Linked DNA regions of Homo sapiens: regions 2, 3, 4, 5 and 6 are each linked to region 1. Evidence: promoter capture Hi-C in 16 types of primary human blood cells and fetal thymus (Javierre and others, 2016). All regions are on one chromosome and are shown on one strand. Each heading gives the region's core, a stretch centred on a gene start or on the middle of the fragment in contact. The rest is flanking DNA. Distances are from core to core; before and after follow the strand shown. Region 1 holds the start of VIL1 (villin 1). Region 2 overlaps RNF25 (ring finger protein 25). Region 3 has its middle 22 kb from the start of CXCR1. Region 4 holds the start of ARPC2 (actin related protein 2/3 complex subunit 2). Region 5 overlaps CNOT9 (CCR4-NOT transcription complex subunit 9). Region 6 holds the start of GPBAR1 (G protein-coupled bile acid receptor 1).

Region 1 (4,167 bases), core at 783-3,282:
ATATGGAAAGCTCTCCCCACCTTTCTGACACTAACATGCTCTTCTAGACTCAATTTAGATCTCATTTCTTCCAGGAGACCTTCCTAGAATCCTCAGCTGGACAAGGGGCCCCTCTGCATCCTGGACTGTCCCTTCTCTTGGCCCCCTGACCACATGGTGATGAAATAACCTGTTTGTAAGTTGGAGGTCCCTGAGCTCCAAGACCTAGATATGTTTGTCTTTGCAGCCCCCAGCTCCTAGCACATAGTAGGTGCTCAACAAATACTCATGGGCTGGGCGTGGTGGCTCACGCGTGTAATCCCAGCACTTTGGGAGGCCGAGGCAGGCGGATCACGAGGTCAGGAGATCAAGACCATCCTGGCTAACACGGTGAAACCCTGTCTCTACTAAAAATACAAAAAATTAGCCGGGCGAGATGGTGGGCGCCTGTAGTCCCAGCTACGCGGGAGGCTGAGGCAGGAGAATGGCGTGAACCCAGGGGGTGGAGCCTGCAGTGAGCTGAGATCACGCCACTGCACTCCAGCCTGGATGAAAGAGTGAGACTCCTTCTCAAAAAAAAAACAAAAAAAAAAAAAACAAATACTCATGATGCTGAAAGGCTGAACTGTGGGATGGAAGGAGGACCCTCCCAGGGCACTGGAGGGGTTTGGGCTCCCACTGTCTGCAGGTCCATCTTGCCTTTCTTTCTTTTTTCTTTTTTTCTTTTCTTTTTTTTTTTTTTTTTTTGAGACAGAGTCTCACTCTGTCACCCAGGCTGGAGTGCAATGGTGCAATTCTGGCTCACTGTCATCTCCGCCTCCTGGGTTCAAGCGATTCTCGTGCCTCAGCCTCCCGAGTAGCTGGGACTATAGGCGTGCGCGAGCACACCCAGCTAATTATGTATTTTTAGTAGAAACGGGGTTTCACTATGTTGGTCAGGCTGGTCTTGAAGTCCTGACCTCAAGTGATCCACCCCACTTGGCCTCCCAAAGTGCTGGGATTCCAAGCATGAGGCTCTGCACCTGGCCCACCATGCCTTTCTTATCTGAGCCCTGTTGTACTTGAGTTGCGGCTCTGTTGTAAGTGGGGTGCTGCCACGGCTCCTAGTTCCCAGTCGTGCAGCTCTGAGCTGGACAGGAATGTGGTGGGGCAGTGGGGGTGAAGTCCCACCCCTCAGACAAAGGACATCCTCCTGCTTCCCAGGCTCATGATAGAAGAGGGAATGGACACCCGCCAAGACCCTCCAGCCCAAAGGCTCTGCCCCAGCAGATGATGTCCCGAGAAGACAGCAGCCAGTGTGTCCTCAGAGCCTGGTCTGCAGCTAGCTCCCATTCCTAGTTCTGCTGAATGGGCCCACAGTGGCTGGGGAGGCCAATGGGGCAGCTCCGGGTAGAGGGGAGATGGGGCAGAGGTGCATGCTAGGGTGGCCCGGCATGGCCCAGGACCTAAGGCCCTGCCACCTCCAGCCCCTTGCCTCTGCCCTTGCCTCTGTGTGTGCCCATTCAATTGCTGGTGGCTGTTGCTCATATGCTAGGAGCCAGGAGGCAGGACCCGGAGGTCCCAGGAGTGTCAGAGGAATGGTGACACAAAGAAAAAAACACTTCAGATGAAGAACGCACGGGCAAAGAGATGAGCTGGTGGGGAGGGGGCTCGGGGAGTGAGGTCAGGGAGACCAACTAGTCCCGGTCTGCCCAGCACTGTCCTGGTTTTAACTCTAGAAGTTCCAGGGCAATTGGGATGGTGACACCCAAAGTGGGATGGGGCTAGCCACAGGTAGGAGACTGAGAGAGCCATTGTCTGGGGCAGGGCCTGCAAAAGTCTCTCCCTGGAGGCCCAGGGCAGACACACTGGGCTCCCAGCACTTCTCACGCTATCCAGAGTGTCAAGCCTCCCCTTCGAGCCCGTACCAAGGTGCTCCAGGAGGCCCCAAGTTGCCCGAGAAAAGCAGAGGACCCCGTCCCCTCGCACCACCTAAGGTCTCCATGTGTTCCCACCAGGTTGCCTTACCTGTCTTGGGGAGGCAGCTGCCACCTGGGAGATCTCAGGGAATTGTGGCAAGCTGGCTGCAGAAGAGCGACCTTTGTCCCCACCCCCCCTCCTCTAGGAACTGCCTTCACCATATAAGGGAAGATAGGGCCCCAGAGAGGTGAGGGGGTGGGGAGGCAGGTGCTGCCAGGTCCCTGGGAGCCCAGAGCCCTCCACAGCCTGACAATGAGAGCTGATGTGCCCCACCCTTGGCTTTTTTTTTTTTTTGAGCCTCACTCTGTCATTCAGGCTGGAGTGCAGTGGTATGAATTCGACTCACTGCAACCTCCGCCTCCCAAGTTCAAGTGATTCTCCTGCCTCAGCTTCCCAAGTAACTGGGACTACAGACATGTGCCACCATGCCTGGCTAATTTTTGTATATTTAGCAGAGACAGGGTTTCACCATGTTGGCCAGGCTGGACTTGAACTCCTGACCTCAAATGATCCACCTGCCTCGACCTCCCAAAGTGCTGGGATTACAGGTGTGAGGCCCGGCGCCCAGCCCCTCCCTTGGCTTCTGAGTGAGCAAGGGATGGGGTGCTTTTCTGCCCAGGGCCCAGGCCCTCACCACAGGCAGACAGCACTGTCCAGGTAGGGTCAGCGGCGCCTGAACCTTTCCTCCTACCAACCAAGAGAAGGAGGCTCAGCTGTCCTCCCACCTGCCCTGGGGTGAATGGTTCATGGAGAAAGAGAGGCAGGACTCTAGGGTTGCAGAAGCCCCAAACCCAGGAATGCAGGGACTTATACTCAGGGCCCCTCCAGAACAGATGGGAGGTCTCTTAGAGGTCTCCTAGAGGTCTCTTCTCAGCATGACCCTCACTTAGCAAGGGCCCCAGTGAGCACAACTGCTCCTCCTCTCCACCCTTAGGGGCACTGGCTCCACCTGGAGTGTTTTTTTTGTTTTCGTTTTTTTTGCTGAGATGGAGTCTGTCTCTGTCGCCCAGGCTGGAGTGCAGTGGCGTGATCTCATCTCACTGCATCCTCCGCCTCCTGGGTTCAAGTGATTCTCCTGCCTCAGCCTCCCGAGTAGCTGGGATTACAGCCGCACACCACCACGCCCAGCTAATTTTTGTATTTTTAGTAGAGACGGGGTTTCACCATGTCGGCCAGGCTGGTCTTGAACTCTTGACCTCGTGATCCGCCCACCTCGGCCTCCCAAAGTGCTGGGATTACAGGCGTGAGCCACTGCACCCGGCCCACCTGGAGTTTTTATGAGATGCCATAAACCAGTGCCTTTGAACTCTGTTCTGCTACCCTCTCCCAGAAGCCAAGGTTTCCATGTCTGACCCCTGACCCTAGGGGATCCATCTCACTCAGGCAGGAAAGTTGTGCAGCCAACTCCAGCGTGGATCTCGCTGAGAAACCAGCTTCACACGCAAACTCAGCACCTTGGGCAGCTGCCTCCCAGACTGCAGAAATTCTCCTATCACCTGTGAAGCCTGGTCCTTAGGAGGGTGACGTGAAGTGGGCTGGGTGAGGGCAGTACGTCCTTCTCATCACAGCCTCCCAAGAGTTCTGGAGACCAAATGTACAGTAGTCCCCCCCTTATCCAACGGGGGATACATTCCAGGACCCGCAGTGGATGCCTTAAAACCTCGGATCGTACCGAACCTGGCTGCCATCAGCTGGAGCATGTTTCTGTTCGTGTCTTCCACCCACAAATTGAAGCCCCTTCTATTTTCATTAGCACTTATCCTGCACTGTGGCTGCATTTTGCAGTTTGAGGTACACCAGCAAAATTAACACAAATTTCTGTTTCCTTCTTCACAATTTCATGAACAGAAGATGCATTCTTATCATAGATCTTAGCAACCTCAGTATATGATGTTTTTTGTTCTTTCCTTATTGAGAACTATTACCTTTTCATTTAAAGGAAACATTTTATGGCTTCTTTTTGGCACTTCCAAATTGCCAGCATCGCTACTCTTGCATTATTTAGTAAAATAAGTGTTACTTTGGGTGGGGGGTTGTCTTTATTTTTGTTTTTTGGAGATGAAGTCTCGCTCTGTCACCGAGGCTGGAGTGCAATGGCATGATCTCGGCTCACAGCAACATCTGCCTCCTGGGTTCAAGCAATTCTCCCATCTCAGCCTCCCGAGTAGCTGGACTACAGGTGCATACCACCACACCCAGCTAATTTTTCTTGTATTTTTATCAGAGACA
Region 2 (4,167 bases), core at 713-3,212, 250 kb before region 1:
CTTTCCTCAGCCTTCTCTCTCTCACACAGCACTAGTGAGGACTATTGTATGAATAAAGCTTTACACTTCATATAAAGTCCCTCTAGTCCTTCTCTCAAGCATTCTTAACCAAAGACTAGAACATGGAAGGACTCTGGGATTTGGAAGTAGGATCAATGTGGGTTAACTCCACATTTTATTAGCTGTGTGATGCTGAACAGGCCATCTAGCTTCTGTGAGTCAGTGTCCTCAGCTGTAAAAAAAAAAAGTGGGTGTGGCATTTACCTCAGAATAGTTGAGAGGATCACGACGGATTTGTAATATACTTAAGTCTGTTTTTTGTTTTGTTTTGTTTTGTTTTTTGAGACAGAGTCTCACTCTCGCCCACGCTGGAGTGCGGTGGTGCGATTACGGCTCACTGCAGCCTCGACCTCCCCAGGCTCAGGTGATCCTTCTGCCTCAGCCTTCCGAGTAGCTGAGACTACAGGTGTGTGCCACCATGCCTGGCTAATTTTTGTATTTTTTGTAGAGACGGAGTTTTGCCATGTTGGCCAGACTGGTCTTGAACCCCTGGGTTCAAGTGATCCTCCCACCTCAGCCTCCCAAGGTGCTGGAATTACAGGCGTGAGCCACCACACCCGGCCTCCTTTTCATTAATAACTGAGGTGCAGGCACCTGGGAAGACTAGATGAGTCCCAAAGAAGTAAAGTGATTTGCCAAAAGATAGAAAATTATGAATAGAAATCCATATCTGTCTGACTCCACACCTTAGATTCTTTGTACTAGGACATTCTTCAGTCCCCACTCCCCCAATTTTTTTTTTTTTTTTTTTTTTTTTTGAGACGGAGTCTTGCTCTGTCGCCCAGGCTGGAGTGCAGTGGCGCAATCTCGGTTCACTGCAAGCTCCGCCTCCCGGGTTCATGCCATTCTCCTGCCTCAGCCTCCCGAGTAGCTGGGACTACAGGCGCCCGCCACCACACCCAGCTAATTTTTTGTGATTTTTAGTAGAGACGGGGTTTCACCCTGTTAGCCAGGATGGTCTCTATCTCCTGACTTCATGATCCACCCGCCTCAGCCTCCCAAAGTGCTGGGATTACAGGCCTGAGCCACCGCGCCCGGCCCCCCTCCCCCATTTTGTTGTCACCACCTTACCACCATCCCATCCAGGACCCATATAACTAGGGTGGGCGAAGTATTGAAGGGCCACTTGACTGAGGCTACACCTCAATGTTACATTGGTTCAGGGAGCCCAGCTAGTACTGGCCGTTATTAAGAGTATCTAGACTACTGGTTTTCAAAGTGTTCAGGGAAACTTCTTTTTTTTTTTTTTTTTTAAGAGACAGAGTCTTACTTTGTCACCCAGGCTGGAGTACAGTGGCAAGATCATGGCTCACTACAGCCTCGACCTCCTGGGCTCCCGTGATTCTTCTGCCTCAGTCTCCCAAGTAGCTGGGACCACCGTGTCCAGTTAATTTTTTATTTTTTGTAGAGATAGTGTCTCGCTTTGTTGCCCAGGCTGGTCTCGAACTCCTGGCCTCAAGTGATCCTCCCACCTCAGCCTCCCAAAGCGCTGGGATAACTTACAGTTTACCTGTTCAGGGGAACTTTTAAGATTCAGGGGAGACACCTTGAGCCATGGAGACAGCAACAATGAGTGCAGCAGCCTGTAGTACTGTGAGACTCCCACTCCCATGTCAGCCAGAACTACACTGTTATCTGTGAGGTGTGAAGCTTTATATTTTATATTTTGAAGTTTCTGCCTAAGACTTAACAACACTGACATAGGTCGTGCTGGGGCAGCCTTACTCTTAGAATGAAGAGGGAGCAGTGTGAGAAAGCAAAGTGTGCATTTTTCCATGTATCACTTGGTAGAGCTGTAGACACAAACTGATCACTCAGCTTCAATTTCATTACAACTGCTGTTTCTATGCTTAAGTATGTGTGTCCCTTGATTTACATCAGAACCATGGATCCTAACCTCAACAGGCTGATCTAGATCAACCAGACAGCCAGGTCATAAATACATCCAGAGTACTCTATTACCTCCTTCCTTCCCTCTTTCCTTCTAAGGGAGAAGGTTATATACAGACAGGAAAAAAAGAGGACGTAGACTAGCTACGATAGCCCAGATACTATTAGGTACTTTATGTAAACAAATCACCTTTTATCCTCACAATAACCCTAGAGAGTAGGTGTTATTATCTATATGTGACAGACAGGATAACTTAAGCTTACAGAGAGGTCACGTCCCAGATTGCATAGCTTGTAAGTGATTGGTACCTGTTAACTAACTCCGAGGCTGCTGGCTCTTCCATTACAACACAGCCTTTATACCACCCTAAATATGTTGTGTTGAGGTTGCTATCTCCTTTAAGAAGGCTTAGGGTGACTGGTGTTAAAACTGTATGTAGACAGTAGCCAAGGCACTGGGATCCACACTGGACAGTGACGTAGGGAAAGGTTGGAGTAATATTGGTAACGTTAATGCTAATGAATGAGTGCCATATCTCTAGACCAGAGATTCAGCCACTAAGGGGAATGAAACTTAAACAGGGAGTCAGGAAACCTGGCTCTGGGCCTAGTTCTACCTATGTTAAGCCTTGGTTAGTCATTTTACTTCTCTAGAATCCACTTCTTCATCTGTTGGCAGAAATGATGCCTAAAATTCTGATTTCCATGCCTTCTATTTGGCCAGTTGACAACTTAAGGTAACATATTCCTTGTTTTTAAGGAGTTTAGCAGGAGAATGCATTCTGGTAGATTGCCATTTTTCTACAAAGCCTGCCTTTATTGGCCTTAGCAGGCTTCCACAGGGAGAGCTGTAATGGTAAGTTAGTCTACTCCTGTCTCTCTAGGGTCCTTCCCTCTGAAGTTGAAGTATTGGAGTCCATCTATCTAGATGAACTACAGGTGATTAAAGGAAATGGCAGGTATGTATTCAACCAGTGGTGGGCAGGAGTCCCCCTAGTAATGAGGAGAGGTTCTATGCTGAATTTGGGTCTTAAGACATTGTGAGCCTTGATTCAGAGATAATATTTCTCTTGTGTAGACAAAAGCTATTCCTTTAATCCTACCCCAAAAGAAAGAGTCCAATGTGTACTTCCTTTGCCCACTTCACTGTCTCAGCCCCATCCTCCCCAGCCCCCAAGCCCCTACCCAGTCACATCTGCGTGTCCACTTGATCCACCTGCAGAACTTCACCATGGGAGATCTACATCACTTTGCATCCTGCCACTGCAGAGGACCAGGATTCACAGTATGTCTGCTTCACTCTGGTGCTTCAGGTCCCAGCAGAGGTGAAGCCCCTACTGTGTGGCAGCAAAGGGAGGAAGGGGAGAGTCCCTGGGGTGGACCGCTTCAGCAGTAACTTGTTATTTGCCCCCACTAGTATCCCCATGAGGTGCCACAGATCTCTATCCGAAATCCCCGAGGACTTTCAGATGAACAGATCCACACGTAAGTTGAACCTGTCAGAACAGGGAAAACTCAGCTACAGCTTTGCCCGGTGACAGAAATGGGCAGGTCTAATATTTGGTTTGCCCTCTTCCTCCAGGATCTTACAGGTGCTGGGCCACGTGGCCAAGGCTGGGCTGGGCACTGCCATGCTGTATGAACTCATTGAGGTAAGAGGTGCGCTAGTCTGAGATATGTTCTTTCCTTCAAGCTAGAGCAGTTTCTAGCTGTAAAAGGGAAACCATGGGCCTAGAATCTTAAACGGATCTGGAGTCATTAGGTAAGGCCTAAATTAATCCAGAGAAATGAGACTCTTCTATTTGAAAAACTTCCCAAAAGACAGTTCAGTAGCTTCTCCAAGTTGCCTATGCCAGCATCTTGACAGAAAATGACTTTTCCTCTTCACCTTGAATTTTTCTTGCATCAGTTTCAGTATATGTCTTGTTCTCTTGGCACTGGCAACTGAAAGTGGCAAAAGATACGCATCTTGCTTGGGGGCGTCTTAGCCATAAATGAACATTTGAAGGCTAGACTGCCATTGGACCTGACTAGAAAAAGTCATGGTTGGCCAGGCACGGTGGCGGGCATTTGTAATCCCAGTTACTTGGGAGGCTGAGGAAGGAGAATCGCTTGAACCCGGGAGGCGGAGATTGCAGGGAGCCAAGATCATGCACTGCACTCCAGCCTGGGCAACAGAGTGAGACTCCATCTCAAAAAAAAAAAAAAGAAAAAGTC
Region 3 (4,167 bases), core at 614-3,113, 230 kb after region 1:
TACAAAAAATTAGCCAGGTGTGGTGGCTCATGCCTGTAATCCCAACTACTCGGGAGGCTGAGGCAGGAGAATTGCTTGAACCCAGGAGGCAGAGGTTGCAGCGAGCTGAGATCACGCCATCGCACTCCAGCCTGGGCAACAAGAGTGAAACTCCATCTCAAAAAAAAAAAAAAAAAAAAAAGAGAAAAGAAAAGTTGACAGAATTTCACTGTCTACTTGTACATCTACTACCTAGATTCTGCCATTAACATTTTACCTGCTTTATCTCATATTTATCCATTATCCATCCCTATAGCCATTAATCTATTCTTTTGGATGTGTTTCAAAGTAACTGTGGACACCAGTATACTTCTCCCTAAATACATCAGTGTGTACATCATTGATTAGAGATCAATATTTGTTTATAGTTTTTTTTTTTTTTTTGAGACGGAGTCTCTGTTGCCCACACTGGAGTGCAGTGGTGCGATCTTGGCTCACTGCAACCTCCGCCTCCCAAATTCAAGTGATTCTCCTGCCTCAGCCTCCCAAGTAGCTGGGATTACAGGCATGCGCCACCATGCCCTGCTAATTTTTGTATTTTTAGTAGAGACGGGGCTTCACCATGTTGGCCAGGCTGGTCTCAAACTCCTGACCTCAAGTGATCCTCCTACCTTGGCCTCCTAAAGTGCTAGGATTACAGGCGTGAGCCACTGCACCTGGCCTTTAGTGTTTTCTTTTGATGTAAAATTTGTAGACAATGAAGTGCACAAATCTTAAGTGTATATTCACTAAGTTTCAACTAATAGGTGCCCCTGTGTAATCCCAATGCCCATCAATATAGAAAACATTACCATCATTCCTAAAAATCCTCTCATGTCCCCCCATGGCTGGTTTGTCTCTGCCTCCATCCTCCCAGAGGTAACTTCTGCTCTGATTATTTTCAGATTAGTTTCACCTGTTCTAGAACTTCATAGAAGTGGAAGGCTTCTTTTACTCAGTGTAATGTTTTTAAGATACATCATGTTGTGGAGTATATCAGTAATTCAGTCCTTTTTATTGATGAGAATGACTCCATTGTATGACTATTCCACTGTATGTTTAGCCATTCTCCTATTGATGGACACCTGGACTGTTTCTAGTTTTTGGCAATTATCAATAAAGCTATTGATATTTTTGTGAACATATTATTTTCATTTCTCTTGGGCATATTCCTAGGAGTGGGATTGCTGGGTCAGAAAGTAGAAGAAACTGCCAGACCTTTTACCAAAGTGTTTGCACCATTTTACATTCCCACTAATTATATGTGAGGATTCCAGCTATACTACAACCCACTAATAGTCGATATTATCATGCTTTTGTATTTTTAGTCATTCTGGTGATGTGATGTTTGATTGTGTAATGAGATTTCTTTTCTTTTTCTTTCTTTTTTTTCTTTTCAGATAGAATCTCACTTTCACCCAGGCTGGGTCTCAGCTCACTGCAACCTCTGCCTACGAGGCTCAAACAATTCTCCCACCTCAGCCTCTTGAGTAGTTGGGACTATAGGTGCATATCAGCACGCCTGGCTAATTTTTGCATTTTTTGTAGAGATGGGGTTTCGCCAGGCTGCCCAGGCTGGTCTCAAACTCCTGGCCTCAAGTGATCCACCTGCCTTGGCCTCCCAAAGTGCGTGGATTACAGGCGTGAGCCACTGTGTCTGGCCCACATTGTTGATAAAACCTTCCTTTCCCTCACTGGATTGCTTTGGAACTTCTGTTGAAAATCAAGTGATGGTGTAAGTGTGGCTCTATTTCTAGGATTTCTTTTACATTCTAGGTTTAGCTGAGTTTTGCCATGAGCTCAGTGTTGTCAAATCTTCAATTTTTTTTTTTTTTTTTTTTTTTTTTAAGATGGAGTTTTGCTTTTGTCTCCCAGGCTGGAGTGCAATGGTATGATCTCGGCTCACTGCAACCTCTACCTCCCGGGTTCAAGTGATTCTCCCGCCTCAGCCTCCTGAGTAGCTGGGATTACAGGTGCATGCCACCATGTCCAGCAAATTTTCATATTTTTAGTGGAGACAGGGTTTCACCATGTTGGCCAGGCTCTTCTTGAACTCCTGACCTCAGGTGATCCACCCGCCTTGGCCTCCCAAAGAGCTGGGATTACAGGCATGAGCCATGGCGCCCAGCCCAGATCTTCAAAATTTTAAAGGAGAGTGTATAAATCCAGATGTTTTTAAATGTGAAAAAGCCTCAAGGTTTAAAAGTCAGAAACCAATTCTAATTTAAACAAACAAGGAAACCAATCCCAGGCAGTCAAAGAAACTCATCTGCAGGCTGAACTAGATGTGTGGCATTGGAACAGGGAGAGGTAGTTTCAGCAGGAGTCTGGATACATGTGTGTATATATATGTATATAAAATTATTTTTTGAGACAAGGTTTTGGTCTGTTGCCCAGGCTGGAGTGCAGTGGTGTGATCATGGCTCATTGCATCCTTGACCTCCTGGGCTTGAGCAATCCTCCCACCTCAGCCTCCTGAGTAGCTGGGACCACAGGTGTGTTCCACCACACCTGGCTAATTTTGAAAATTGCTTTGTAGAGGTATGAGGTTCCACTGTGTTGCCCAGGCTGGTCTTGAATGCCTGGGCTTAAACGATCCTCCTGCCTCGACCTCCTAAAGTGCTGGAATTACAGGGGTGAGCCACTGTGCCCAGCCTGGATATATGTATATTAAAGTATAAATCAAGGGTCTTATTTTAATTGAAAGATAATGGGAGTGTTCTCAGGGCAAGTAGGTGGGTTCCAGTGGTCAGTGAAAGTCAATAAGAATTCACTGCAAGGGTAAAATTAAAGCCTGTGGGTCAAGGTTTCCTTGGTGCCTAGGAAAGTGGAGGAGCACATTTGTGAAGCTATTAGAATTGCATTTAGAAACCGTAAGGACAGGAAGGGCTAAGGGGAGGCACTGAGTGGAGGCAGTTGACAAACCAGTGACAGGAAAGACACAGGGCCAAGAGAGCCCAAAGTGAGCTGATTTGGAGAATCTGGAGCAGAGGGAATAAAGAGAATCACAGGTCTCTAAACCCAGGGCCCAGAAAGATGCTCCCTGGAATTGGCTGGAGGCTTCCTTGGCTCTGTGGGTGGAAATTGAGACAGAGCAGCCAGAAGACATACAACTGCACATGCCAGAGCTTAGAGCAGTTTCTCAGCTGCACCACAGACCTCCTGCCACCATGGTTGAATTATGACTGTTTAACATTTTAAAATTATTTTTTAAACATTGAAAATATGTAATGGGAACTATGTCACATGTTTCAAAAAAAAAAAAATTAAAAGCTATTCACAAGGAGTCTTCTTCCCACCTGTCTCCCATCTGCCCAGTTTCCATCTAGAACCCCTCCACCCTCCAGCCCCCTGGTCACCATTTGTGAGGTTTATTTTTACTGCAACCATGGATACCGCTTTGGCAGCCAAGTCCATCAGACAGAATGTTGACTATGCAGGTTGGGCCATATCGGGTAGAGCTTGGTACGGCTGGCCACGTGTAAGAGAAAATAAGCAAGCCTGCATCAAAGACAGATAAAAGTTTGTTAGAACTTGCTAGAGCCTTGACTCATGAATATGTAAGGGAGTGTTATCAGGGAAGGAAATCATTCCTGTTAAACTGTGACATGGTGCTTGCTATGGACTCAAAATGTTTGTGTCTTCACCAAGTTTATATGTTGAAGTCCTAACCCCTGTTGTGATGGTATTTGGAGGTGGGGCCTTTGGAGAGGTGATAGATTATGAGGGTAGGGCCCCCATGTGGAATTAGTGTCCTCATAAGAACAGGAAGAGACCAGACCTCTCTTTCTTTCTCTCCACCACATGAGGACACATTGAGAAGGCAGCCATCTGCAAGCCAGGAGGGTGCCCTCATCATAACCCAACCATGCTGGCACCCTGATCTGGGGCTTCTAGTCTCCAGGACTGTGAGAAGCACATTTCTGTTGTTGAGATCACCAGTATTTTGTTATGGCAGCCCAAGCTGGAGGACCAAAAAACTGTGAAACGATCTTCAGTTCTCAGAAACTTGCTTTCTGTATACCTTTTAATCCCTTGGCCAGTAAGTCCAAATGTGCTGTATTTGAAAGTGTGGGTTCACTCAGAGAGGCTGAGAACCTTCTGGAAGAAGGGTCTGTGGGCTGGAAATGGGGGTTGACCATGGGGACA
Region 4 (4,167 bases), core at 558-3,057, 200 kb after region 1:
GCAATCACCCAAAATAAGACTCTGGGCTGATTCATTTGAATATTTAAAATGCAAAGAAACTGGTAAGAGAGGCTAAGACAAGAAAGAAGCAAGTCAGCCTCAAATATAACCAACTGCAGCCCCTGGCAGGAAACAGTACTGCTCACTACACGTATTACTTCAAGGAAAGTAGTGCTTTGTTTTACAGATAAAATCTGTGGCCTTATAAAGGAGACAGGACATACTATATATTCAATTTAAATGGCAGTTAATACTTTCTAATGCCTCCAAGCCACAAGTACATTATGACCACTTAAAAATTCCCCTCTACCAATCTTCTCCCATCTGTGGATCTGCAAGCACTTTCCTATTACTAGTTCCCAGTTCACCAGAAACGGTCTGCACTTATTAACTGTGAAACCCAGATGTGAAGCCCCATGCTCATACATAGGGAAATGAGGCAAAGGGACTGGCCACAGGCCACCAAAAATTAGAACCCAAAATCCTTAGCTCATGTTTTAAATATTATACTAGAAAAGCAAAGCAGCTTTGGAGGAGCAGATTGTCTTCTACTGATTCTTGTGTTTGGCAGAGAGGCTGCCTTGGAAAGATGCCCTAAGCCCATCTTTTAAAAAGTCCAATCGTAAAGACAGGTTATCTAAGAACTTTATAGATTCTGGAGTCTTTGAAGTGTGTAACTGGGCCAGGGCTACCACAGAAGAAATCACAGACCTAGGGTCTTGATGTAAGAATTTACAAGATAACCAGATAAAGGCTAGTGGGTGAGGAGAGAGCATTAGAACCTCAAAGGAGAGATAAGGAAGGGGTGTGGAGCGAGGGACAATTGGCTTTGCTTTAAAAATATGTAACAAAATGGCCCAGTGTCTCTCACAGAAGGGTTCGGGGAAGGGAAACCAGAGATCGCGTTTTTCCGGCTCTAAGACTGGGTCGGCTTTTAGTCTTCTCTTCTGCTCCTTTTAAAGGAGATGGGGGTGGGGAACGAGAATGCTGGTGGCGATGTGGGCCTGCATCTCCTTCCCTCCTCCAGTCCTGGGAATTCCTGAAAACTCCTTCCAACCCAATTCCAAACAGGCTCTCTCTGGGTTCAGAACAATGCCGGGGAATTTCACGCAGGGAAGGGGTCCCCTTCTCGCCCCAGAGGGCAGGGGGCTACTCCGGAGCGAGTTCCGGCTCCAGGGTCCCCCACGTCCCACAGGTCTCCTGCCCTTTGGCACGCACAGCCCTCACCACTCGCTGCTTCCGCATCCCTCCTCTGAGCCTCTCCCCACGCATCTCTGCCCCTCGCCCGGCCGCGCCCAATCGCCTCCCACGTCTACCCCGCTGGGGCAGCCCCTACACCCTGCCAGGCACCCCATTTCTCTCCTCCAGGTCTGGGGGACTGGACAACATTGGGGATTAGCTGGGGTCAACTCTGCTTCCCCCGCCACCCCCGGCCCCGGGCGCGCGCTCACCCGGCGGCCGCGTTCTCGAACTTGAGCGCGAGCGTCTCCTCGATGATGCGGTTGTTCACCTCCAGCAGGATCATGGCGGCGGCTGCCCCCAGGGGAAGGAGAAACAAGGGCCGGTGAGGGTGGGTAAGGGAGGCAAGGACGGAGGGAGCGGCCCTGCTGCCCCCTGAGTGGGGCTGGGTGGGGTAGGAGGTTAGGGGAGAAGGGGAGAGGGGCCGGGGTGGAGGGAAGGGTAAGACGAACGCGCTGGCCCACGCACGCAGACTGTGGAGACACCCACCCACCCAACCGACCTGGCCCCCGAAGCCTGAACCCGCCTGCCGAGCCGCCGCCGCCGCCGCCACTGCCGCTTCACCGACAAGCCCGGTCCCCGCCCAGCCCCCGGCTCTAGCCGGCCACTTCCGCTCTCACACCCACTTCCGCTCGCCGCCTGGACGCGCGGCCCCGCGGCGCCATTTCCGCTTCAACCACTCGTGAACGCGAGCGCAGGCGCGCCGGAGGAAACGGAGGCTGCGCTTGCGTATGTGTGATGCCGCCGCCCCACCGTCTACTTTCCCACCGACCCCGCTTACGTCTACCGCCTACCAGTGCGTCCCCCGCGGAGCTGTCATTCCCCGAGGCTTGCCTGACTGTTCAGCTTCTCTCTCCCGCTTGTCCCAGAGATCCAACTCCATTCTTCCGGTCTTGTCATTTCAGAAACCTCGCAAGAAGCTCGCCCTTGTCGTCTCCCAGCGGGCTTCTTAGCTCCCAGCTTGTTTGATGGGGGTGCCTCTTTTTCTTTCCAGGTATAGCTGTCCAGCGACACCATCATGCATTCATTTCTCCAACAAACATTTTCATGGGCTCTTGCTCTATACTGGGGATGTAGTGGTAAATGAAATGGACGAGGCCCTGCCCTCGTGGAACTTACAGTCTGGCAAAGGAAACAGACAATAAAATTCTCAGTTGTCTAAGGAGGCAGAGATGCATGGGGAGAGGATCAGAGTAGGGATGCGGAAGCAGCGAGTGGTCAGGAGTGTGCGTGCCAAAAGGCAGGAGACCTGTGGGACGTGGGGGCAGCTGGGGCCGGAACTTGCGCTGGAGGAACACCCCTTGCCTGCTGGGGCGAGAAGAGGACCCTTTCCTTGGGTGAAATTCCCCATATTGTTAAAAGGACAATTAAAGAAATGAAAGAGAGGTCACCTGGGTGAATAGGCAACTTAGATGGGCCTCCCTGTGTTCCTGTCATGCCTCCAATTCTGCGTCCAGGTGTCCGGAACACATTTTTTTCTGCCTTTGAAACCTTCCAGTACCTCTGGCAGAGATATACCATACCCTCCTTGTTACCTGCGTGCGGAATCTTAACTCATCGTTGTGCTACATCTGCACCTTCTGCCTTTGTGCCTTGTTTTGTGTTTTCCCTCCTCCGGGGAGAATATAATAAACTTAGCTGAGTCCGTTCTACATACAAGGAAATAATTTATTTTCTGCTATGTGTTTGGGGATGGGGATAAAAAAATGAACAAGAAACTAGCTCCTATCATTAAGGCACAGATAGCCCTTTGAAACATTACTTAACGGGCTATGGATAAGCTTCAGGATATTGCTGATCCCCTAAAATTATACGCTAACTTAAATTTTTTTTTTTTTGAGACAGAGTCTTGCACTCTTGCCCAGGCTGGAGTGCAATGGCATGATCTCGGCTCACTGCAACCTCTGCCTCCCCGGTTCAAGCGATTCTCCTGCCTCAGCCTCCCAAATAGCTGGGATTAAAGGTGCCTGCCACCATGCCCTTTTAATGTTTTGTATTTTTAGTAGAGACGGGGTTTCACTATGTTGGTCAGGCTGGTCTCGAACTCCTGACATCATGATCCTCCTGCCTCGACCTCCCAAAGTGCTGGGATTACAGGCGTGAGCCACCATGCCCGGCCTTTTTTTTTTTTTTTTTTTAATTTGAGATGGTGTCTCACTCTTGTCACCCAAGCTGGAGTGACGTTGCTATCTCTGCTCACTGCCCGCCTCCCGAGCTCAGGTGATCCTCCTGCCTCGGCCTGCCAAATAGCTGGGACTATAGACATGCACCACCAAGCTGGGCTAATTTCTGTATATTTTGTAGAGACGGGGTTTGGCCGTATTGGGCACGCTGGTCTCAAACTCCTGGGTTCAAGTGATCCACCTGCCTTAGCCTCCTAAAGTGCTGGGATTACAGGCGTGAGCCACCATGCCCGACCGATAAGCTAGCTTTGTAACATTAATGACTATTGAACTAAAATAATGTTTATAAATTGTTTAAAATATGTATGCTTATAATACTAAAAGGCTTGTAATGAAAAAAGCAGTTCCCTGTCCTACTCTTTGGAGGCAATATGCTCAACTCTTTCACAAATTCATCCTGATATTTACCTTCATAATCCCTTTCTTTCTTTCTTTCTTTCTTTCTTTCTTTCTTTCTTTCTTTCTTTCTCTCTCTGTCTTTTTCTTTCTTTCTTTCTTTCTGATAGGGTTTCACTTTGTTACTTAGGCTGGTGTGCAGTGGCACACTCTTGGCTCACTGAAGCCCCGATTTCCCTGGGCCCAAGCAATCCTCCGGCCTCAGACCCCAACTAGCTGGGACTACAGGTGGCCACCAATATGTCCAGCTAATTTTTGTATTTTTAGTAGAGACAGGGTTTCACCGTGTTGCTTCGGCTGGCCTCGAACCCCTGAACTCAAGCGATCCGCCTGCCTTAGCCTCCTAAAG
Region 5 (4,167 bases), core at 1,210-3,709, 160 kb before region 1:
CATGGTCCCTATTACTTGGGAGGCTGAGGCAGGAGGATCACTTGAGCCTAGGAGTTCAATTCCAGCCTGGGTAACACAGCAAGACCCTATCAGAAAGAAAAGAAAAGAAAAGAAGAGAAGAGAAGAGAGAAGGGAAGAGGAGAAGTCCCAAATTTAAACTCTTATTCCTTTAATAATACTCTTTATATATTGAATCAAGTTCTTATGCTTTACTCTCCCTACAATTCCAGCAAATGTTTCCACATATATGCTGAATTTAATCCCAAATGTTGGATCTCAAAGTCTTATTAACAACACTTAGAAGAGTGCTTGATAGGAGTCATCATGTTCCTGATACTTATTGATTAGTGAATGAGACAACCTCAAAGACAAAAATGAATGACTGGTGTACAAAAATCATAACCGGCAAGACAAAACACCCAACTTAGACTACTACTGTGAGTATTTCAGGCTTGCAAAACAATTCTAATAACTTACCAATAACTCCAAGGCTGGTGAGCCGGAGATACTCAAAGGGACGTGTTTTGCTGACAGTGTGCAAAAAGGGGTACAAAAAAAGTGGGATGTGTGCTGCGAGAAACGCTGACCTGGAAGAAAACAATAATTACATTCACAGCCCAGGGTTGATTTCTAAGGATCCTGAACTTTCAAATTTCTAGGTGGTTAATTCTGTAAGGCCTTAACATTGTCAGAGCAAGGAATCCTTAGGAAAACAATGTTACTGGTCATTAGTCTCAACCAATGGTTCTCAAATGGGGTAAATTTTGCCCCCTGGAGGACATGTGGCAATGTCTGGAGACATCTTTGATTGTCACAACTCAGGATTATGAAGCACTATTGGCATCCAGTGGGAAGAGGCCAGAGATGCCATTAAACATCCTACAATGCACAGGACAGTCCTCTCCTGCCCTCTCCTTTCCATCACAAAGATTCATCCAGCCCCAAATGGTAATGGTGCCAAAGCTGAAAACCCTAGTCCAGATCACAGTGGTTAAGAAAACACATGATTTTCCCTGTAATCAGCAAAAAGTACCTTACAAACTGATTAACTTAAAATATCCAATTGTGGATTTTAAAAAATAGACCACAAAATGCTATTAAGTGTCCAAGAGATTGTCCTAGATTATCTCCCTCACCTATGACTGAATAATAGTATTCACAGGTGCAGTCGAATAAACCTTACAAACCAATACAACAAAACAAAGCAGCCATTATCAGGCTTACCTGCTATACTTTAATAAGCACATTCTTCTTTTTTTGTTAGGGCATTTCAGATACACAAACCATTCTGAAAACAGTTTAGTCAGGCAACTAATAAGGAAATCAGTCTATTATTTTATATTATTTATAGTTACACCTTGTAGAAGAGCCAACGCCCAAGATTTTTAACACTCAAAGTACTCTTGTGTTTTTGTTAAGTGCTTAAAAGTAATTTTCTTAGTAATTTCTCTAAAGCTGTGTAAGGTCAGTGCCAACCTAGCATACATATTTCATAAGGAAACTTGACAAAGAGGAAAGGCTTTAATAAGATGACTATTAAGTGCCTTTGGGGCCATAAAAGCCCACAAAGTAGATTCCTGAACAGGATTTCCCTTTTCTTAATTTTTTAGATATGACAGGTGGCAAAAATATTTTAACTTACATGCCAATTCTCGTCTATTATAGAGGCCGCCCAGAATGCTATGTTAAGAAGGATTCTGAAGTCAAATCTGGGTTCAGTGTGGGAAAAGTGCTGGAAAAATAATTACTAAACTCCTCTTATATGCCATGCACTATGCCTCACAGATGACATAGTGTCAATAACAGGTCAGGGAGTGAGAAGTAGCTGTATGCCTGATACCTTTCCTGTAATGTGAACACTGTTTCTTTAAAGTTCATTGGGTAAAAGTAAATAAGAATCCGGAAGACCAGGAGAGAGAGAGAGAGAGAGAGAGAGAGAGAGAGAGAGAGAGAGAGAGAGAGAGACACACACACACACACACACACACACACACACACACACACAAACGTTCTCTCTCTCTCTCCTCCATGCCCTTCCTTTTATTATTCAGAGAACGTTTAGGACCATATTCAATGTATATCTCCCCCAAGTGACTCACCCAAAGCATTTACCTGGTTTCTGGATGTGATGCTACACATTGCAGTAATGCCAGAGCATTGCAAACTCTGTTAGACTGGTGTGCTGTCAAGGTGGGTGGGTTGATAGATGGATAAATATTTACAATTTCCTAAAAAATGGAAATCAGCATCAGATGAATAAGGAATAACTAAAAATTAATTCCCATGGTAATAAAGCAAAAAAAAAAAAAGGCAAATAAAATAGCTCTTAATTCTGTGCATCTTTTAAGAACTCAGTCATCAAAGAGGGAGCAGAAATAATGCTCATATCCTTTCATCACAAACTTACTTGGCTGAGACTAGCTAAGACATTTCTACATTTGTCTCTAGGAAGATTTTTTTTTTTGAGACTCACATTTCTACATTTGTCTCTAGGAAGATTTTTTTTTTTGAGACGGAGTCTCGCTCTGTTACCCGGGCTGGAGTGCAGTGGCACGATCTTGACTCACTGCAAGCTCTGCCTCCCAGGTTCACACCATTCTCCTGCCTCAGCCTCCAGAGTAGCTGGGACTACAGGCGCCTGCCACCACGCCCAGCTAATTTTTTGTATTTTTAGTAGAGATGGGGTTTCACCGTGTTAGCCAGGATGGTCTCGATCTGCTGACCTCGTGATCTGCCCGTCTCGGCCTCCCAAAGTGCTGGGATTTCAGGCGTGAGCCACTGCGCCCGGCCTAGGAAGATTTCTGTGGAGGCAAATGTAGTCATCTACACTTCCTCTTATATTCTCCAGCTACTGAGGCTATCAGTTGAGGGATACTCAAATTTTTATAATTTTGCTAGCATCCTGCTTTAAGTTACAGTGATGAGATCACTGGCCAGAAAGTGTTAAGTCAACCACGGTGACTCATAAAGAAGTTTGAATTTGGTTAGGTAGTAACATGGTAAGGACATGAATCAATGGGTGGGGATATGTATAAACAGCAGTGAATATATGCACTATCTGTCAAAAAGTAATGATTTACTCAATACAATTCCATTTACATTTTTTTTCTTTTTTTTTGAGACAGGGTCTCACTCTGTCATCCAGGCAGAGTGCAGTGGCATGATCATGGCTCACTGCAGCCTCCACCTCCTGGGCTCAATTGATCCTCCTACTTCAGCTTCCCAAGTAGCTGGGATTACAGGAGTGTACCACCAAGCCTGGCTAATTTTTGTATTTTTTGTAGAAATGGTGTTTCGCCATGTTGCCCAGGTTGGTCTCAAACTCCTGGGCTCAAGCAATCCTCCTAACTCAGTCTGCCAAACTGCTGGGATTACAAGCATGACCCACTGCACCTGGCTACAATTTTCCATTTACATTATTTGTAAAACTTTTACATAGAAAAACGTTCCCATAACAAAGATCAGTTTCTTGGCTAAATGCAATAGAGATGGAATGTGAATTTACTTAAGAGTTGAAAAGTTAATCTAATTGTTAGGAATTTGGGGCAATACTTTAATGGATGATCATGCCACTACCTAGGTATTTTGGTATTGTTATTGTACCATATCAGTTAATTAGCCACCAGTGACCATTCTGGTTTGAACTGAACTTCAGTTATCTATTCTTTAATGTACAAGTGTACCCACCTTTAATACTACAGCTGTTATACCTTCAACATTTCCTTTCCAGGCCAGGCATGGTGGCTCATGCCTGTAATCTCAACATTTTGGGAGGCCAAGGTGGGTGGATCACGAGGTCAGGAGTTCAAGATCAGCCTGACCAACATGGTGAAACTCCGTATCTACTAAAAATTAAAAAAAAAAAAGCCAGGCATGGTGATGCAGGCCTATAATCCCAGCTACTCAGGAGGCTGAGGCAGGAGAACCACTTCAACCCGGGAGGCAGAGGTTGCAGTGAGCCGGGATTGCACCATTGCACTCTAGTCTGGGCGACAGAGCGAGATTCCGTCTCAAAAAAAAAAAAAAAAGAAAAACAAACAAAAAAACCCAAAAACCCATTTCTTTTCCATAGAATATATTGTACCTTGTGGTCCTTATACTCTACTTTCCACCTTCCTCCCCCTGTCATGTAGATTTATCTTACAGTACTCCTAAAGCGGTGTTCGT
Region 6 (4,167 bases), core at 422-2,921, 160 kb after region 1:
GCATGCCTGCAGGATGGGGTGGCCAGAGTTAGGATGGGGCTGCAGGTCGTGTCCTCCTGGCAGGGCAGCATGTTAATCCAGGGGCGCAGACCCGCAGGCTGTGGGCTGTATCATGTTCGCTGATACACAGAATTTTTCAATTAATTGCCAATTAAACATTTATATAAAAAACTATCTTTGGTTTCTATTGAAAATTCAGGTCTGGCAACACATATGTCCTGTGTGGTAGCAACCAGCCGGAGCTCACTGCTGGCTGCCCTTCGGACAGTCCCCACCCAGCCAGCTTTATCCATTTCTGGTATCTGCCTTTTCTGGGCAGCTGTGTTGAGGTCTCTTGTTTAGACTGAAAGGCGGGCCCATCCAGCCCCAAAGCATTTTGTGTATCCCTGCCTCCACCGGGGAGGCCTCTAAATGAGAGAATGGACCAGGGCTGGCTGGTGTGTAGTGGTCTTCCAGCCAGCCATTAGGTGACAGGCTCCAGCGGGCCAGGTCTCGGGCACCCTGCACCCTTCCCCCCATCTGTCCTTGTAGCCATCACAGCTCAGTGAGCAGCCTCCGGGTAGGACTTCCAGCCCATAAACTTGACTCGTCTTTGCTCCACACTAGCAACAGGGTCCTTCCTGGGAGCTGGAGGGAGGAGAGAAGCAGCTGGAGGGCACGTGTGGCAGTGAACGTGGAGATGCCAGCAGCAAGGAGAGGGACTCCCCCACACCCCCAGGCCTGAGGCTGAGCCCAGAGGAGAGGGAAGAGGAGTCTGGGCAGAGTCTGGCTTCTCTGTGGCTCTCATCTGTCCCTGTCCTTCCCGTCATTCCCTGGTCTCAGTCCTCCAGTGTCATGGCTCTGCTGCCACATCCTGGGGACAGGGGGAGGGGTCCTGGGTCCTGTGGGAACTCCTGCTTCTGTCAACAGGGGAGCAGCTGCTGTTGCTAGGATCCAAGTCAATAAGGAAAGGATTCATACCTCTCCCCTCCTCCAGGACAGGGGATCAGGGCCCCATGGCTGCCCTGAGCTGAGAGGAAGGAAGATGCTCCCCTTCCTTCCCAGGTTCCCCCAGCACCCTGAGCCTGGGCCTCCAAGGCCTTATGCCCCCTTTCCCCTCCCCTAAGCATGTTTTCTCTTTCTCAATCTCTTCCAGTGCCCTCCACCCAGGATGTCTTTTCCTCTCTAGAGGCCTTGCAGTTTCTGTTCCCTTTCCCAGGGCATCATCAACTCTCTTAAGTCCCGTGAGACTCAGGGTCCATTACCCCAAACCTGGCCTGAGCTGGAGCTCCCAGCCCTAATCGGAATGATTCCCCCCAACCCACCTCCACTAGAACAGCGACAAAGGCAGGGAGCAGCCCCCAGGGGTGATTTCCCAGCAGGGTGCAGGCTGTACCACCTGCACACCCCCGAGGGTCTGGTGGCTTGGGCTGGGTGTAGTAGCCTCTCCAGGATCTGGGGTTTGGGGGTTTGGGGGAGTAGCTACTCACATGGCTGTTGGGAGCAGGTATTGCCTGCCCAGCCTGGGCCTTCCTGAGTGTCAGGGAGTTGCTGCAGCCAGCCCTGCAGCGGTTTGGACCATGTCTGGTGTCCTGGCTGAAGAGCACAAGTGGACCAAGTGCATGGTGTCTCCACCCAGTGGGGACAGCGGGGCCAGGCTCTCCTACCCAGGCTCTGCCCGTCTGGGTTCTCAGAGGGATAGAGAAATGAGGCTGGCAGGACTCAGCCCTGGCCCCGCCTCTGGGAGGGTGGGACCTGACATATTCCAAACTGCAGCAACTGGGAGGCCTGCCTCCCCCTCCCACCCAGTTCCCCTCTCCCCCTGCCACCTAGGTGGCAGTTTCCCTACTCCAGCTCGGAGTAATCTGAGAAATGCATTCCAGTTAATGAATAATAATGATTGACTTACCCCTCCCGACTTCCCGCCTCAGCTGATGCATTTACATTTAAGCCCCTGGACTGGCCAGCCAGCTGACAGCACACCAGGCTCCCTCCACACTTCCGTGTGTGATGGTGGCAGTGGCAGGTGTTTGGGGCCTGAGGATCTTCACTCCCCCATCCCATCACCTGATGGGCCTTTCAGTTTCTAAGGCCAGACTTGCCTTCCTGAATCTGGGGTCATTCCACACTTTTCTCAACTGCTTTCTGAGTCAAGTTCTGAACTATGAGGGACAAATGGCTCTGGGGATGTGACCATGGGTAAGGTACTACTGGGCCTCGGTTTTTGCCTGTGTTAAAATGGGAACAAGAAAAACCACCTCTAATTAAGGTCGTGGTGGGGAATATCACAGGATAACACATATGGCGGCATATACCCCAGTGCATGGCCCTTGATGGGTGGGGGTTTGCCCCAACAAATGGCTCCCTCTCTTTCCTCCCCCATGATGAAGAGGCATGAGCTGGCGCTGGAATCAGAGCTGTCTGGATCCTTTTTTAAAAAAGCCAGTGAACTTGGGCAAATGACTAAAGTTCCCTTGCCTTAGTTTCCTCATCTGTCAAATGGGGCCCATAGTTGTACTCACCTATCGTGAGACTAAATGAAGTCCCGTGTGATGAGGACTCAGATCAACACTTGGCCCTTCAGCACTCCGCGACAGGCAGCGATCGCTGGGAACATTATTAGGATTTCTGCCTTTCTCTGCACCTGGCCCCTCTAAGACAGATCTGCTGAGAGGGGCGCATGGGGAGCTTGGGAAAAGCAAGAGGGGAGTGACACTCTTGCTGCACAGGGAAGCTGAGGAAACCAGATACATTGAGAGGGAAGGGCAAGTTCAAGGCTGGGAAGCCAGAAGTGGTGCTTTGATTTCCACCTTGTATCAAGTGCGGCTTTGGAGTGAGGGGGAGGAGAGAAGCCCAGCCACACTCCCTTAAGGCCTGAAATGGGAGGGAACAGGCGGAAATTGCAGCAGGAAAGCTGGGACTGGGGGTGAGACATTAGGAAACACTTGCTGGCTGAAGAGCGCAAGTAAATGGAGCAAAGGGACTCTGGTGCTCTCCGGGAGAGCTGGGCCTGAAGGGCTGGAAGCCCGTGGAGTGTGGCTGTGCCAGCTCTGCACAGCCAGTCAGGGATCCTGGAGATCAGGGACTTCTGTTGGGACAAAAAGTGGGAAGAGGAAAGCATCCAGCCTCAAGTCCATCCTCGAGGGAGCTGGTGGGTCGGAAGGACGCAGGGTTCCAGGGCCGGTCCTCAGAACCACGGGATCTGGTCGGGCAGAAGTCACAGGCTCTGGGAGAGTTCAGCCTGGGGCCTGGACAGAAGTGGGTGTGGGACCCTTCTGATATGTGACTTCCAGGAATAAACAGACCTCCTGTTCCCAGCCCCAGCCTGCTCCCTGTGGGATCCAGGATGTCTGTTTCTTCTCTGCTGCTCTGTCTAAACACTGTGTGTGGGATGTGTGTGAAGGGGGACAGATTAGGTAGTGGCAGCCAGGGAGCCTGGGCTGTCTCCTGCTCAGCCTCATTTCTCCCTTCCTAGATCATCTAGTTCCTGTCTGTTCCATCAAGCCCTGGGGCTGACTCACCCCCTAGCTTCTCCCTTCAGCCACGGAGGGCTCTGGTGCAAGCCGTCTTCAGACGCTCCATCCAGCTGACTGTGCCCGGACCCCATTCTCCTTTCCTCAGGCAGAGCCTGAATGGGGGTGACCAATTCAGACTCTGGCATGGAATCCTCCTGTGCCTCCTTTGTCCGCTTCCATTCTCTTAGCTATCTGAATTTCTCTCTGTTGACCCACAATGTCTGGGACTGGGTGAGTGTCATGCTGGCTGCGGGTACCAGCTCTGGACCAATGGAGGCAGCAGGGACGGGGTTTGCTGGACCCTGGTTGGCCTCCCTGAGCCGCTGTTCAACACTTCACACTCAATGCCTGTAATCCTAGCACTTTAAGAGGCTGAGGCCTGGGCAACGTGGTGAGACTCCGTCTCTACAAAAAATAAAGATTAGCTGGGCACAGTGGTACATGTTGTGTGGTTCCAGCTACTCAGGAGGCTGAGGTGTGAAGATTGCTCGAGTCCAGGAGGTTGAGGCTGCCGTGAGCCTTCATGGCGCCACTGCACTGCAGCCTGGGCGACAGAGTGAGACCCTGCCTCAAAATAAAGATGATTAAAAAAAATCAGAGCCAGGCGCGGTGGTTCATCCTTGTAATCCCAGCACTTTGGGAGGCCGAGGTGGACAGATCACCTGAAGTCAGG

The links. Contacts are between HindIII fragments. The CHiCAGO score rates a contact against its expected background, and 5 or more counts as called.
Region 2: a fragment that was not itself captured here is called in contact with the fragment with the promoter of VIL1 in region 1 in 6 of 17 cell types (fetal thymus, total CD4 T cells, naive CD8 T cells and 3 more); the score reaches 9.0 in fetal thymus.
Region 3: a fragment that was not itself captured here is called in contact with the fragment with the promoter of VIL1 in region 1 in 1 of 17 cell types (neutrophils); the score reaches 6.5 in neutrophils.
Region 4: the fragment with the promoter of ARPC2 here is called in contact with the fragment with the promoter of VIL1 in region 1 in 6 of 17 cell types (naive CD8 T cells, neutrophils, non-activated CD4 T cells and 3 more); the score reaches 6.4 in naive CD8 T cells.
Region 5: a fragment that was not itself captured here is called in contact with the fragment with the promoter of VIL1 in region 1 in 1 of 17 cell types (erythroblasts); the score reaches 6.6 in erythroblasts.
Region 6: the fragment with the promoter of GPBAR1 here is called in contact with the fragment with the promoter of VIL1 in region 1 in 1 of 17 cell types (neutrophils); the score reaches 5.7 in neutrophils.

What each region holds. Positions count from the first base shown.
Region 1 is chr2:218,416,988-218,421,154 of GRCh38, reverse strand. It overlaps VIL1 (villin 1), which reads right to left and starts at 2,032. Exons shown (of 20, transcript NM_007127.3): 1 at 1,987-2,032. The HindIII fragment of the contact is 19,335 bases long and covers 1-4,167 here.
Region 2 is chr2:218,667,347-218,671,513 of GRCh38, reverse strand. RNF25 (ring finger protein 25) reads left to right here. Exons shown (of 10, transcript NM_022453.3): 2 at 2,835-2,909; 3 at 3,173-3,275; 4 at 3,368-3,435; 5 at 3,533-3,602. Among named protein-coding and RNA genes, the nearest start is that of RNF25, 2.6 kb to the left of the region's middle. The HindIII fragment of the contact is 499 bases long and covers 1,713-2,211 here.
Region 3 is chr2:218,186,785-218,190,951 of GRCh38, reverse strand. No RefSeq gene overlaps it. Among named protein-coding and RNA genes, the nearest start is that of CXCR1, 22 kb to the right of the region's middle. The HindIII fragment of the contact is 6,006 bases long and covers 1-4,167 here.
Region 4 is chr2:218,214,829-218,218,995 of GRCh38, reverse strand. It overlaps ARPC2 (actin related protein 2/3 complex subunit 2), which reads right to left and starts at 1,807. Exons shown (of 11, transcript NM_152862.3): 1 at 1,742-1,807; 2 at 1,452-1,533. The coding sequence starts at 1,525. LOC101928487 (a long non-coding RNA gene) reads left to right here and starts at 1,810. Exons shown (of 2, transcript XR_923908.2): 1 at 1,810-1,968; 2 at 2,145-2,895. RefSeq lists a silencer at 1,624-1,673 and an enhancer at 1,195-1,798. The HindIII fragment of the contact is 6,430 bases long and covers 1-3,022 here.
Region 5 is chr2:218,581,032-218,585,198 of GRCh38, reverse strand. It overlaps CNOT9 (CCR4-NOT transcription complex subunit 9), which reads right to left. Exons shown (of 8, transcript NM_005444.3): 3 at 2,113-2,228; 4 at 478-587. Among named protein-coding and RNA genes, the nearest start is that of CNOT9, 14 kb to the right of the region's middle. The HindIII fragment of the contact is 8,800 bases long and covers 1-4,167 here.
Region 6 is chr2:218,258,519-218,262,685 of GRCh38, reverse strand. It overlaps GPBAR1 (G protein-coupled bile acid receptor 1), which reads right to left and starts at 1,671. Exons shown (of 2, transcript NM_170699.3): 1 at 1,470-1,671; 2 at 1-6. RefSeq lists an enhancer at 419-1,224. The HindIII fragment of the contact is 11,967 bases long and covers 1-4,167 here.